Linked DNA regions of Homo sapiens: all the other regions are linked to region 1. Evidence: promoter capture Hi-C in 16 types of primary human blood cells and fetal thymus (Javierre and others, 2016). All regions are on one chromosome and are shown on one strand. The core of a region is centred on a gene start or on the middle of the fragment in contact, and the rest is flanking DNA. Distances in the headings are between cores, read along the strand shown.

Region 1 (3,229 bases), core at 501-3,000:
TCCTAGTTAAGGCTCTTTATAAAGAGCTTGTTCTTCATGTTTTAAGCACTTTATGAAGAATAAAACATTCATGTACTGCAGGTGGCTCTGTTGTGTTCCTGTTTTGGAATGAACAGTTACAGGAGGCTGCTGTGGGAGAAAGCACCTTAAATCAAGGTGATGGGATTCTTGGATGACACTGTCCCTGCCCCTTATAAGGGGGCAGCAGCACAGTGTTGCCCAGCAGCCTGAACTTAGTCTTTTCTGACTCCCAGGGTACCCACATTTATTGCGCACCTAAGATGGGCCCATTTATTGGTAATACAGAGGGTAAGAAATGGATTCCTATTCTCAAGTTGCATGGTCTAGCAGGGGAAGATAAGATACAAATCCAAGATACAAATAGTTCTTCATGGCTAGATAGAATCTCTAAGATAAGATACAAATCCAAGATACAAATTGTTCTTCGTGGCTAGCTAGAATCTCCCCCTAGCTTTATGAAAAGTGTTTCTTGTGGTTCAACTACTAGAGGATGAAAAACTTTGACTGCTACAGCTCATGTAGTGTCCAGAAACACTGGCAGACATGAGCCAACCCTGCACTCCACCACGAGACTAATGAGACCCAAAGTGGAGTTCCCTAGAAGACCAAATATTTCTACTGTCATCTTGGGCAAAACAGGCAGCTCCCGAAGTCTGGCTCACTGACCAGGTAATTCAGCTGGGAATCTTCAGCTAATCCATTCTACAACTGTATGTGTTTATTATCCATACTGATCCTTACTCCACAATCTGTAATACTCCCCCTTACCTAACACCCTCCCCACCCACCCTAGTCCCAAGTTCTCCTCCTGCCCAGGAATTAGGCCCAGGAGGGATCTTCCTTGGTTGGCCAGACAAGGTGAAAGCTGCCAGGGCTCTTAATCCCCCACTGATGAACTCACAGCCAACACTTATTTGAGTCTCTACTGTGAGCCCTTTTATGTCTGGCTCTGAAAACTGAAGTGAATCAAAAAGTCATAGCCCCTGCCCTGTGAACTTTACAGTAAGAAAGACTGTCCAGAACAGTAAGTAGTTGTGAGTGCAAAAGAGAAGTGCTGGGTGCCACGGAGCCTCTGTGGGATTTTGTGCAAGCAGAGTGATGGACTGGGAAATGCAATGTTTAGGCTAAAGCCAGAAAGCCAGCATCAGGCGAAGATTTAGTCTTCCGGGTACAGAATGTTCAGGGGTCGGGAGGCGGGCAGGCCCCAGCATGCTCCAGGAACTGAGTGTCAGGGCAGCCGGAGAGCACAGGACGAGTGGGCAGGGTGGCGACGGAGGAAAGTACGAGAAGGTCCGCAGTGCAACTCCTTGGAGAAAGCCTTCCGAGGTTAACCCTACTCCGCCTGGAGTCTTTGCCCATCTGGTCCCAGGTTCCCCCTTGAATGGGACCCTTCTGCGCTGCCTGGCCCCAGGAGCGACGCCCACGGCAGCAACTCTAACTTCTGGGGGCAACTAAGCAGCGAGGGGTGGCCCGTGGTCGTCGTACAGGAACACCTTTCCTGGACTGCCGACCTTGCACCTTGCAACGCGGACAGCGGGCACCGAGACCTCTCCGGACGGCCGCAACTCTCCGCAGTCTACGGTTGTAAGCGCCGCGACGCGAAAAACTACACTCCCCACAACGCCTTGCGCCTCCCGCTCGCTGCGGTTGATTAGGGCCAATCGGGAGAGGCAGCTGTGGCGGGGGCCGAGGAGGGACATTTTAAAAGGGCCGGAGATTGCGGGCGTCAGTGGCCATGGCGGATACAGCGACTACAGCATCGGCGGCGGCGGCTAGTGCCGCTAGCGCCTCGAGCGATGCACCTCCTTTCCAACTGGGCAAACCCCGCTTCCAGCAGGTGAGGACCGGGCTGTGGTCTGCGGGCCGGCGGGTGGCAAAGAGAGGACGAGCAAACTCCCCTCCAAAGTCCCCTTCCGCCCAAGGGTCTCCCACCCGCGGCCAGCGGAGCCTGCAGCTAGCGCCAGGGGGGGAACCTCGGTCACAGTCACCCTTTTCCCATTGGTCAACGGGGCGGGCGCGGACTCCCATCTTGGCTTCCTATTGGCCCTTGGCGCCGTCACTCCCCGACTGCCCGCGCCCTCTAGCCTTTCCCGCCCGCGGCGCCCTGTGATTGGCCACCGGCGGCTGCGGTCAAGGTCCCGAGCGCCCGGCTTCGAGCGGCTGCTCAGGGTCGCTCCGGGTTGTGCAGCTGCCCGCCCGGGACGCAAAGTTCTAGTCTGGCCCTGGATGGGAAGTTGGCGTGGCCGGGATGCCTTCTAACTTTTTCCCCCGGTGGGGACTGACGTTCCTTTCGAGCTGCTGGCGGTGCCGCCGGGCAGCGTCGCGCCCCGCGGTCACTCCCCAGCCCTGGCCCCCAAGCCGGGCTCGGCGCGCGCAGCAGGTTGAGGGGGCGAGTGCCGAGGCGAGCGGCGGTCCGGCGTCCCCCGTCCCTGCTCTCCATCTCGGGCTGAGGATTCGCTGACGCAGCAAGCCGGCCGATGCCCTGAGGGGACGCAGCCAGGGCGTGCGGGGGAAACGCTGTGTCATCCCCTGGGGCCGTCGTCCCTCCGAGGGGCTGCCGCCTGGGAACCCCCCCCCAGCCTCTTCCTCGCTGTGTTCTCCGCGGAGGGTCTCCCGCGCCCGGGCCCCCGCGCCGCCGGGGACTGGCTCTGGGCACACCCGCTCAGGCTCTTCGGGGCACGGCGACAGGGGTCCTTTCCCTCCGGGACCTCCTCTGGGGCGTCGCCGACTCGGCCCTAGACTGCGGAGGCGGGGGTGGAACGCGGAGCCCGGGCGCCTGGTTGGGCCCGGAGACCGGAGCCGGGGAGGGGCCGCTCCCGCGCCGCAGACCCTCGGGCTCCCGCGCCTCCCGCACCAATGAGACGGAATTTATTAGGAAACAGGCAGAGAGACCGCTGAAGTGAACCGGGGCTTGCCAGGGGTGGGCGGCAGCCGAGGCGGCCAGAAAAGAACTTTGAAGGAAGAAAGGAAATTGTGCTAAGGTCGGTGCGGTGGCTTTTTTTTTCTTTTTTTGTTGTTGTGGTGGAAGGGGACTGGTTCCAGCAAGGGGGTGCCCCGAGCTTTGCTGATAATTAGGGAACTTGGCTCCTGAGCCGTCTGAAAAAAATGTCCCCAGTGTTTCTTAACAGGACTTTAATTCCTTTTAAAAGTAGGCCATCTCAGCATGTAGGTATCCGAGGCGAGACTGGCATCTTCCTTCCAGTGTAGG
Region 2 (3,229 bases), core at 399-2,898, 250 kb after region 1:
CTAGATTAAAAATTGCTTACAATTCTATAACACAGCTGCTGTTGTTTTGGTGCTTTTCCTTCTAGAACTTTGCCTTATATATTTTATTATTACAAAGCTTTACTTATGGGTGTAGGAATAATTTTCTGTCTTGCTTTTTTAAGTTGTTTGTTTATAAAGCTAGCTCTTTATAAACAAGAAACAAATTGAGGGGGATATTTTCAAAAGGCTGTTTTATTTAAGGTCATTTGATAAGTGAATATGGGGATGTGGCATCCACTTACTACTTCTGTGCCTTTGACCACATGGCTCTTATTTTTCCATCCAGCACCCTCTCCCATTAATTCATCTTTACAGAGATCAGTTAATCATAATCCTTGGTTCGTGACACTTTCTCATTATAGGTCCATGGCTCTCTTTAATAAATTAAATCAATTTATTTTTATAAGCAACTTACCACCCAAGTGGGCAATTTTTTCTCATCTAAAAAGTGATTAGAAAAATGAAGATAAAGCATCCTTCATGGTACAATGCAAGGTACCAAGCTAGGACTACTGCCTAGCAGGTAGCATGAATGATGCTTTCTCTCTCTCTCTCTCTTTTTTCTTTTCATACTCTTCCTCCAATGTAGATGGGGTGCCATGGTACCTGCTAGGCATTGGTCACTCAAGTGTGAGTCATCTTCCACCTTTACCCTTGGGTTTGCTATGTGGACTTAAGTATTTCTATTTTTTGAGTTTTGTTAGTTTAGTGGTTAGCCTATTTTTTTTGTTTCCTTTTCCTGGTCCCACATATCTAAGGGATATAATACTTATCAATAATCAATCCTGGGAGGGGTTATTTTGGGGTGGAGCAGAGAAAGGAGGAGGAGATAGGAAATAAATATATAAAAGCCCTTCAGGTGATTGTGATATACTCCGTCCTTGACAATCACTGAGGGGAAGAACATTCCCATTGCTCATGCTTATTTTTTAATAGTAGTGCCCTTTTAAAAATGACATTTTTATATTTTAATTATAAATGTAATAGAATGACTTAAGAAGAAACAACAACAAATAACTTAATTCTATTACCTTTCCACCACTTTTATATTTTTATATTTCCTCTTAACTTTTTTATATGCATGTTATTATATTAAATATTAGATGATTATTATGTGTCTTGCTTTTTCAGTTAACATGTTATATACAGGTTTATACATTATAATGATGTCACTTTAGTGGCTTTATTAATGAATTGATTCATTCATATATTCATTCAATATTGAGCAATGTCTATGTGCCAGATACTCTTCCAGGCTCTGGGGTACAGCAGGCAGCAATATAGACAAGTCCCTATCCTTATTGAGCTTATAGAGTCCGGAGTGGGCACTTACAGAATAAATGAATAAATATATAATGTAGTGCTATTTAGCGATTAATGTTACATAATGACTGGGTTATTGCTTTCAATTAGGGGATTAGGAAAGGTAGCTTTGGCAAAGGTTTGAATAGAGTGAAGCAACAAGCCATATGGCTCTCTGTGAGGGAAATACCTTCCATACAAAGGGGACAGTAAGTGCCAAGGCCCTCAGGAAAAGGATAACGGTGGGAAGTGGTGGTAAGAAAGTAGTCAGGGTCCAGATCATGTAGACTAAGAAAGAGACTTTGATTTTATTCTAAATGTTATGGAAAGGTACAGGAGAGTTTTTATTCTGAGCATTATGGGAAAGTACAGGAGAGTTTTGAGCAGGAAAGTGACATGTGGTCACTTAGATTAAACAAGGAATGTGGCCAGGTACAGTGGCTCATGCTTGCAATCTCTGCACTTTGGGAGGCCAAGGAGGGCAGATCACTTGAGGCCAGGAGTTCAAGACCAGCCTGGCCAACATGGTGAAACCGTGTCTCTACTAAAAATACAAAAATGGCCTGGCACGGTGGCTCACGCCTGTAATTCCAGAACTTTGGGAGGCCGAGGCGGGCGGATCACGAGGTCAGGAGATCGAGACCATCCTGGCTAACATGGTGAAACCCCGTTTCTACTAAAAATACAAAAAAAAAAAAAAAAAAAAAAATTAGCTGGGCCTGGTGGCAGGCACCTGTAGTCCCAGCTACTTGGGAGGCTGAGGCAGGAGAATGGCGTGAACCTGGGAGGCGGAGCTTGCAGTGAGCCGAGATCGCGCTACTGCCCTCGAGCCTGGGAGACAGTGCGAGACTCGTCTCAAAAGAAAAGAAAACAAAACAAAAATTAGCCTGGCGTGGTGGTGGGCACCTGTAATCCCAGCTACTCAGGAGGCTAAGGCAGGAGAATCACTTGAACCCAGGAGGTAGAGGTTGCAGTGAGTGGAGATCGCACCACTGAACTCCAGCCTGGGCGACAGAGCGAGACTCTGTCTCAAAAACAATGACAACAACAACAACAAACAAACAAGGAATGTTCTGGCTGCTGTGTGGAGACAGAGTAAGAGAGGAAACAGGGAAACCAGTTAGGGGATGTTTGCAGTAATAAGAGGCAAGAGATGGTTATGGCATGCAATATGGTAATAGGGAGGAGGTGATGAGAAGTAGCTGGATTTAGAATATGTTTTGAAGGTAGTGCCAAAACGATGGATTAGTTATGGGAATTAAAGAGAGGATCAAGGATGATTCCAAGGCTCTTGGCCTAAGCAATCAGATGATGGTGATGCCAATTATTGGGATAGGGAACAATAAAGGGAGGAACTTTACTTTTCTTTGAATAACTTATTACAGCCTGACATTTTATTTTTGATTGTCTACCCTGTTGGAATGTCTGTTCAAGGGGGGAAGGGATTTTGTTTCTTTTGTTTGCTGCTGTATCCTGGGAACCCAAAGGGTGCCTGGCATATAGTTGGTGCTCAGTAAATATTTGTTGAACGAATAGAAGAATTAAAAAATTGTATCACCAACTGTTAATTATCTGGGAATTAATTAACTGATTTGCAGATTAACTGTCTTAAAAATATGACTTCTTTTTGAGAGAAAATAAAACTAATGAAAATTTCAAAAGCCTCTACATATCAGAAATGTTTTTTATAACTACATATAACTTTATAGTTCTTCTTTCTCTTCATCAGTCAGAAGTGTAATCTAAAATAATTTTTAAAAAGCCTGTCATTCCTCAGTGTTCTTTGTAGTGCTGTCAAAAGTTTGCAGGTTTAAGAATAGTAACTCTAATGATGAAAGCATTATGATCTGAGTGCATGTTATATAAATAAAGCTTAACATTTAGCAAAAAGTTGAAATTGTACATT
Region 3 (3,229 bases), core at 271-2,770, 230 kb before region 1:
TGAGGCTCTTCTATCCAATCTTGCCTTTATCTCTCACATGTGTAACTCCCAAATAAACTCCCTGTAGCCTTCCCTCTCAATGTCTGCTTCACAGAGAACCCACCAACACTGACACTGACATATTCATAATATTGAGTCTTCCCATCCAATAAGACATATGTCCCCACCTAGTCTATTGTTCAATGCCCTTCAGAAAAAATTTTTATCATTTTCTTCATATTCATATTGCACATTCTTAAGTTTATGACTAGTAATTACTCAATTTTTTAAAGTTTTTTTTGCTGAAGTAAATGACATCTTTGAAGTGTGATAAAATATATCAATCACACTTTAAATTGATATATTTTAAAGGTATGTAGTAGGTCATAAGGGTTTATAACTGTTATGTCATCGCCTTGTCATTCATTTCTAAGTTGTCTTCCTTTTGACCTCCTGAAAACAAACATAGAATTAAACAACAACAATCTACTTCCATCAGTAGGAGAATGGATAAACAAATTGGTATATTTAAACAATGGAAAGTTAGTGACTGAGAAAAAAGGATTGATACATACAAAACATTTATTAATTGATACTGATGCATGAAAAACATGGAGTGGGTAAATCTTACAGAGATTATGTTGAGCAAAAGAAGCCAGACACAAAACAGTACGTACTGAATTATTCCATGTATATGAAGTTCAAGAGTAGGCAAAACTAATCTATAGTGATATACTGAGAAATATGGTTACCCGAAAGAGGGGGTATCTACTGACTGGAAAAAGGTACAAGGGAACTTTTTGGAGGATGTAAATGTTCTATATATTGATTTGTGTTAAAAAGTCATCAAATGGTAGATTCACTTAAGATTTGCTCCTTTCACTGTATATAAATTAAAGCTCCATAAATAAAACGTAGTGGGTCAGAGGAAGACTCTGTTTCTCCTACTGATTCTCCACCTAAATAAATGACCACTGGCCAGGCACGGTGGCTCATGCCTGTGATTTCAGCACTTTGGGAGGCTGAGACAGGAGAATTGCTTGAGCCCAGGAATTCAAGACCAGCCGGGGCAACACAGTGAGAGCCCCATCTTTACAAAAAAAAATTTTTTAATTAGCGGGGTGTGGTGGTGCGTGCCTGTGGTTCCAGCTACTTGGGAGGCTGAGGTGGGAGAATTGCCTGAGCTGGGGAAAGTTGAGGCTGCAGTGAGCCATGATCGTGCCACTGCACTCCAGTCTGGGCAACAGAGCATGAGAGCCTGTCTTGAAAAAGAAAAAAAAAAAAACGACTAACCCATGGTCAAAACTGAACCCAAGAGTCAACCTTGACTCCTTCCTCTCTCTTTTGCCCCAAGGGTAGCTATTCACCCTTGTGTGTGTGTTATAAAAGAGCTCCTAAATGGCTGCTGACTCTGAAAGCTTCTCCTTTCCTGTTGCCACCCACTGTTCACGTCTGAGGGCCCACTGTCAGTTGATTTGCCACAGTGGCCTCCTAACTGATCCCCGTTCCAGGTCACCTTCCACGCTGTATCAGAGCATGGAAGGTGGTCTTAGAACGCTGGTCATTCTAAGATAAAAATCGCATCGCCTGTACAGCTTAAATCTCTTCAATAGCATCGTATTACTCTAGGGATAAAGTCCAAATGCCTATGCATAGAAGCTTGTGATCAGATAGGTGGGGAAAAAAAAAAAAAAGTCCAAATGCCTATGCATAGAAGCTTGTGATCAGATAGGTGGGGGAAAAAAAAAAAAAAGTCCAAATGCCTAAACCTGCTTAAAAGGTCTTCTAGGATCCTGAGCTCACCAGTTTCTCCAGCCTGACCCCACTTGCCCTTCCTAGCCTCTTTCCCTCCTCACACTCCAGCCATCATGGGCTTCCGCCAGTTCCCTGAATCCTTTTCTCCTCCCTTGTCTTTTTTCTCTCACCTTCTGGCTTTTGTATATGCTGTCCCCTTTGCCCAGAACATTCTCCCCACTCAACCTTTCCCTTTTTCTGGCTAACTTTTACTTAACCTTCCAGTCTCCATTCAAATGTCACTTCCTTGGGGAAGCCTTCCCTGAATATCTTGTTGAGCTAACGACCTCCTGCTTCCTTCTATGATCTCAAACCATCCGGTCCTTCTCCCGCTGGCACATGCATCACACCTTTCTGTAATAAGTTGTTGAACTGGCTGATGTATTAAGTCCTCAACAAATATTTAGATGAATGAATAATGAATGAATGAGAGCAAGGATTGGAAGAAAACAACTAGTCATGAAATTCATGTCATAGTGACCAATTCCACCCACATACACATAGATGCCCAGAAAACACAGGGCACACATTTGGGGTAGGAAGAATTACTCATCATTTCTTAACTGCATATATTGTTTCTAACCTCGCCTTTTTTTTTTTTTTTTTTTTTTTTGTAGCAAGTGCCTGTGCTTCAACCACCACTTAATTTGTTAATTCTGACTCTTAATCCTGAGACTATAGGTAGAGAAGGTAACATACTCCCATTTCACAGGTGAGAATGCACAAGCACAGAAAGTATTTCGAATTTGTTCAAGGTCACAGAACAAACCAGTGGCAGAACTGGGTCAGACTCAGTTCCTCTGACTCCCTGGCTTGAGGTTTTACTCTATTGTCAGATTCTCTATGTCTCCTGCAGGCCATGTGTCCCTACCAAATGTAGGGATCACCGGTTTGGCCTTTGTGAGAGCAGGTGCTTAGAAATCCTGTTGAACTTTCTTCCTTCGCTACCTACCCTGTACCAGAAACCTGCTGCACAACATTGATAAAACCAGTTCTATTCTAGGCCCTGACTTGCTGCTGCCTGGGGAGGTGACCCCCAGGGCATTCCCCCTCATGCTTAACTGAATAAAACTCCCTGCTGAAGTCTTCACATGGCACACCGCATGAACATGTGGGACCCACTGGTTGCCAAGCCAAATGTGGCTCCAGATTATTCTAGGAAACAAATAAATTGTTTTGCTCTGGATTGAAGGAATTGCTAATTAGGGATTTTTATTTTGAGCAGTGTTCCTTGGAGCTGGCAGACAGATGGAGTAGGCGACTTGCTCCAGGGGCATTGTTAAGCAGAGGGAACTATTTCTGCCCCTGGTTATGAGAACGTGCCAGAGCTCATTGCTGCCCAGCTCTTGCCCTCAAGGACAAGGGAGGCTTCCTGGCTCACAGTTATTTCCTCTTCTCTGGGCCTGGCCCTCAAAGCACAAGCACAAGACCCTAGTGGTGGTGTCAACCGGATATT
Region 4 (3,229 bases), core at 472-2,971, 150 kb after region 1:
CGGATCCGCTTGGGCTTGCGTGCGAAGGGGCCGTGCAGAAGCAGCCCGTCCTGGGGCACGTCGCTGGCTGCGGCCCCGCCGCCGACGGCAACACACGCAGGTACAGACAGAGAGAAGGGGCGCCGTGAGCCGGGGCCCAACAGAGCCTGGCCTCGCGCCCTGCTCCCAAGCGCCCTGCCCTCTCCATTCCTTGACACGCACACACACGCCATTTCTCCCTTTGCCCTTTTGCCGCCCCTTCCCTAAGTCCACTCCCCTCCGCAACACCTCCCCGCACTCGAGAGCCACTCCGCGGGGGAACGCGGGGAATAACAGCTCTCCAGATCCCTCTGTTAAGCCAAGAGATGGGGCAGGCCGGACGAGGCGTGGACCCACATTCACAATGCCTGGGGCAGCGGAAGAGGCCAAGGGGTGGGGAAGAAAAGTCCATGGCGCTCTTTCTCCGCCCTTTCCCAGGGGCGCTGCCCTGGCCGCCAGCCCCAACGATTTGCTTTCAGTTAACTGGTCGCAAAGCATCTCCCTCCAAGAGGACCCAGGGTAGAGGCAGGGCTGGGGGTCAGGAACGTGATAAGGGGAGCAGCGGGGTGCTAGGCACACCTTTGCCAAACACAGATTCAAGAACTAGAAGGTACACAAGGAGCAATCCCTTCACACCTGCTTGCACTAGTCTTGCGGCTGAATGCTCAGGCTACTAACTCATTAAAAACTCCTGCCAGCACGCTCTAGCTCTGTCTTGCAGGGGGTATAAATAGGCCAGTGGCTAGGTCAGTGGTCCAGGCAGCACCTGGAAGTGGAAAGTCAGGCTCCTTCTTCCCCTTTCTCCACCTCTCTCTCCCCCAGGCCTTGGCGGTCCAGAGACCCAGCCTCTAGGGTAAGCCCCCAACCCCCTATCCCAACACACACACTGGAGACTCCAAGTACTGTCTGGTGGGAAAAGCTTCATCCCTGCTTCATCCCTGAATAGTCCCTTGCTAAAGAAACATGTGTATAAATATCTAGATGTCATCTTTCTCTCTAATATATATAGATATAGATATATTGGTTTCTGCATGGGCGTGTGTAAATATATGTTCCAGCCTCCCTACTGTCTTTTTTCCTATCTACTGTATAGGATTTTTAGAGTGTGACTGTCCCTTAGCAAATGTTGGCCAGCATAGGGACTCAGCTCCCACATGCAGGAGGAAGGGATAACACTGGACTGGATGAAGCTGGGGTAGGGGAGATGGGGTCAGAAACTATCAATGCCAAAACAAGCCTCTACCCACAGCGCCTGTCTCAATGAACACCCCACTAGGCCCTCACACAATCTCTGGCTTGGTTGCACATGCTAACAGACTCATAACAGGCCCTGACAAAATCACCCATGGATTCTCATGTAAGGGCACATAACAGCCTCCTGATGCACCAAAAACACGGAACCCTAGATGGATTATTTTGACAGAATTAGCTGTTGGGATTGACTGATCCAATTAATTTCTTCAGAGATGGCTACTGGTTGGACTTGATTTGACCTGTTGCTTTGCTCTAAGACAATCACCTGGATAATTCAGTTAACATCTCCCATCTCTGGAAACATCTATGTAAGTGAATCAAAAGCAGATAATTGAGATGCTGTAGCTAAAACTCTCCAGGTAACTGTTCTTGTCCCTCTGTTGGTGGAAACTCCCTGACCTTACTTCCTCCAAGTCTCTGGGCTTTGGTTACCTAAAGAAGCCAAGTTTTTGCTGGAGTTTTCTGTGGAACAGAGTTGCTAGGATTGCGGGGCTAGTGCCTGGAAGGGGTCAGTCAATAATCTCCAGTCACCTTATCAATTTCAACTGGTTGGATCTGTGCAGCCACAAAAATGGTGGGACCACATCACAGGGAGATGGGTGAGGGACACCCCATTTGATTATTCAAGTGGCGCAGATCTAGGGCCCTCAGGTCCGACTGAAGAGAAGTTTGACTTGGGATAGTGGAATAGACAGATGGTCAGGGGAGGTGGTCTGGCAGAGATGAGTAAAGGGCAGAAAAATATGGAGCCTGCTCCAGGTGGGGAATAAGGAAGATTAAAGTCTCTGGGGTGGGGCCAGTGAGGTAGGCCAGGGAAAGGTGGGTGGAAAGCAAATGCTTCTTGTTAATGTTAATAACTTGCTTCAAAAAACAACATTGTTATGAACCTGGGTGAAGTCCCAACAGTGGTTTCCTCTGGACAAATGAACCAGAGAGGGAGAGAGAAAGCCTAGCTCATCCCAGCATTGGCAGGGTTTGGCCTCAGATGCTGGGCTGGCCCAGGTTGGTCAGAAGTGAGGCTGCAGTGTGGAAAGCCCCGTAAGTGTGTATGAATAGGAGGCAGAGGTGTGAAGGGCAGTGTGGGGCTGAGGAAGCAGGTCTGCAGTCTGCCCCAGTGTCTCTGACTTAGTGATTATTTTGTAATTATGTGGTATATGTCAGTCACCTGTGTGGTGGAGTGCTCTGTGTTTGTCTTTATAAACCCAGATGAGAGGATGAAGGCAACAAGCTTCTGTACCAACATACATGCCCCTTTGCCTCAAGTCTGGTTATTTTAGGGGGATGCTAGGTTGCTTTGGGTCTACCTTACTGAGAAAATGGCCCCAGGTCATTGTCATGTCCAGTTGTGGTAGACAGCATGTGTCCTAAAGGGTATATTCACATGCATGTGCAAAAATACAGGGGTCCTTCTAACCCTATCACAGAGAAGCAGGAGACTGCAGGATGAGTCAAGATGCTAAGTGATGACAGGTTATTTGATTCCAAAAGAATAAGGACGTTTCCCTGTTAGAAAGAGGATGTTTAGTACAACACCAAACATCCTGAGAAACAGATCAATTGCTACATGTTTCTGCAAAGACAAGGGTGATGCCTTAGGTGCACAGGTACCTGTACCGCCCCGCCCCCCGACCTGTGGGAAGGAGGCCTGAACCACCCCTACCAGGGGTTCAGTTTCCCTTGCCTGGACCACAAGGGCAGAACAAACTTGGGTCTAGGGTGCGGCCTGTTTGGACGCAGTAATTCTGGGCTGTGAGAACGGGCTGTCAGTTTCGGACTAGGACAGTTAGCAAAGTGGAAAGGGACTGGTATAGCCGTCCCTGGAGCTAGGGAAATGAATACCCCTCTCCTCCCTGCTTCCCTACCCCTCCGATTTTTCTACAGCCACTCTTTTAGGGCCCCTTCAAGGCAATGGCTGGGAACTAGCACAAGAGATTCCCAGGAATGAGGGAGCTGGAGG

What was found. The method cuts DNA at HindIII sites, captures the fragments that hold promoters and counts their contacts. A CHiCAGO score of 5 or more calls a contact.
Region 2: a contact is called between a fragment that was not itself captured here and the fragment with the promoter of SFXN5 in region 1, in 1 of 17 cell types (total B cells). The highest score is 5.2, in total B cells.
Region 3: a fragment that was not itself captured here is called in contact with the fragment with the promoter of SFXN5 in region 1 in 1 of 17 cell types (activated CD4 T cells); the score reaches 6.2 in activated CD4 T cells.
Region 4: a contact is called between a fragment that was not itself captured here and the fragment with the promoter of SFXN5 in region 1, in 2 of 17 cell types (fetal thymus and endothelial precursors). The highest score is 6.1, in fetal thymus.

What each region holds. Positions count from the first base shown.
Region 1 is chr2:73,070,233-73,073,461 of GRCh38, reverse strand. It overlaps SFXN5 (sideroflexin 5), which reads left to right and starts at 1,750. Exons shown (of 14, transcript NM_144579.3): 1 at 1,750-1,858. The coding sequence starts at 1,757. RAB11FIP5 (RAB11 family interacting protein 5) reads left to right here. Exons shown (of 6, transcript NM_001371272.1): 6 at 1-80. RefSeq lists enhancers at 1,152-1,631, 1,832-1,881 and a silencer at 2,022-2,811. The HindIII fragment of the contact is 14,604 bases long and covers 1-3,229 here.
Region 2 is chr2:72,817,115-72,820,343 of GRCh38, reverse strand. The region is part of intron 1 of EXOC6B (exocyst complex component 6B); the gene reads left to right. Among named protein-coding and RNA genes, the nearest start is that of EXOC6B, 7.3 kb to the left of the region's middle. The HindIII fragment of the contact is 3,098 bases long and covers 100-3,197 here.
Region 3 is chr2:73,300,820-73,304,048 of GRCh38, reverse strand. No RefSeq gene overlaps it. Among named protein-coding and RNA genes, the nearest start is that of EGR4, 8.9 kb to the right of the region's middle. The HindIII fragment of the contact is 241 bases long and covers 1,400-1,640 here.
Region 4 is chr2:72,921,147-72,924,375 of GRCh38, reverse strand. It overlaps EMX1 (empty spiracles homeobox 1), which reads right to left. Exons shown (of 3, transcript NM_004097.3): 2 at 1-67. Among named protein-coding and RNA genes, the nearest start is that of EMX1, 5.2 kb to the right of the region's middle. The HindIII fragment of the contact is 1,563 bases long and covers 940-2,502 here.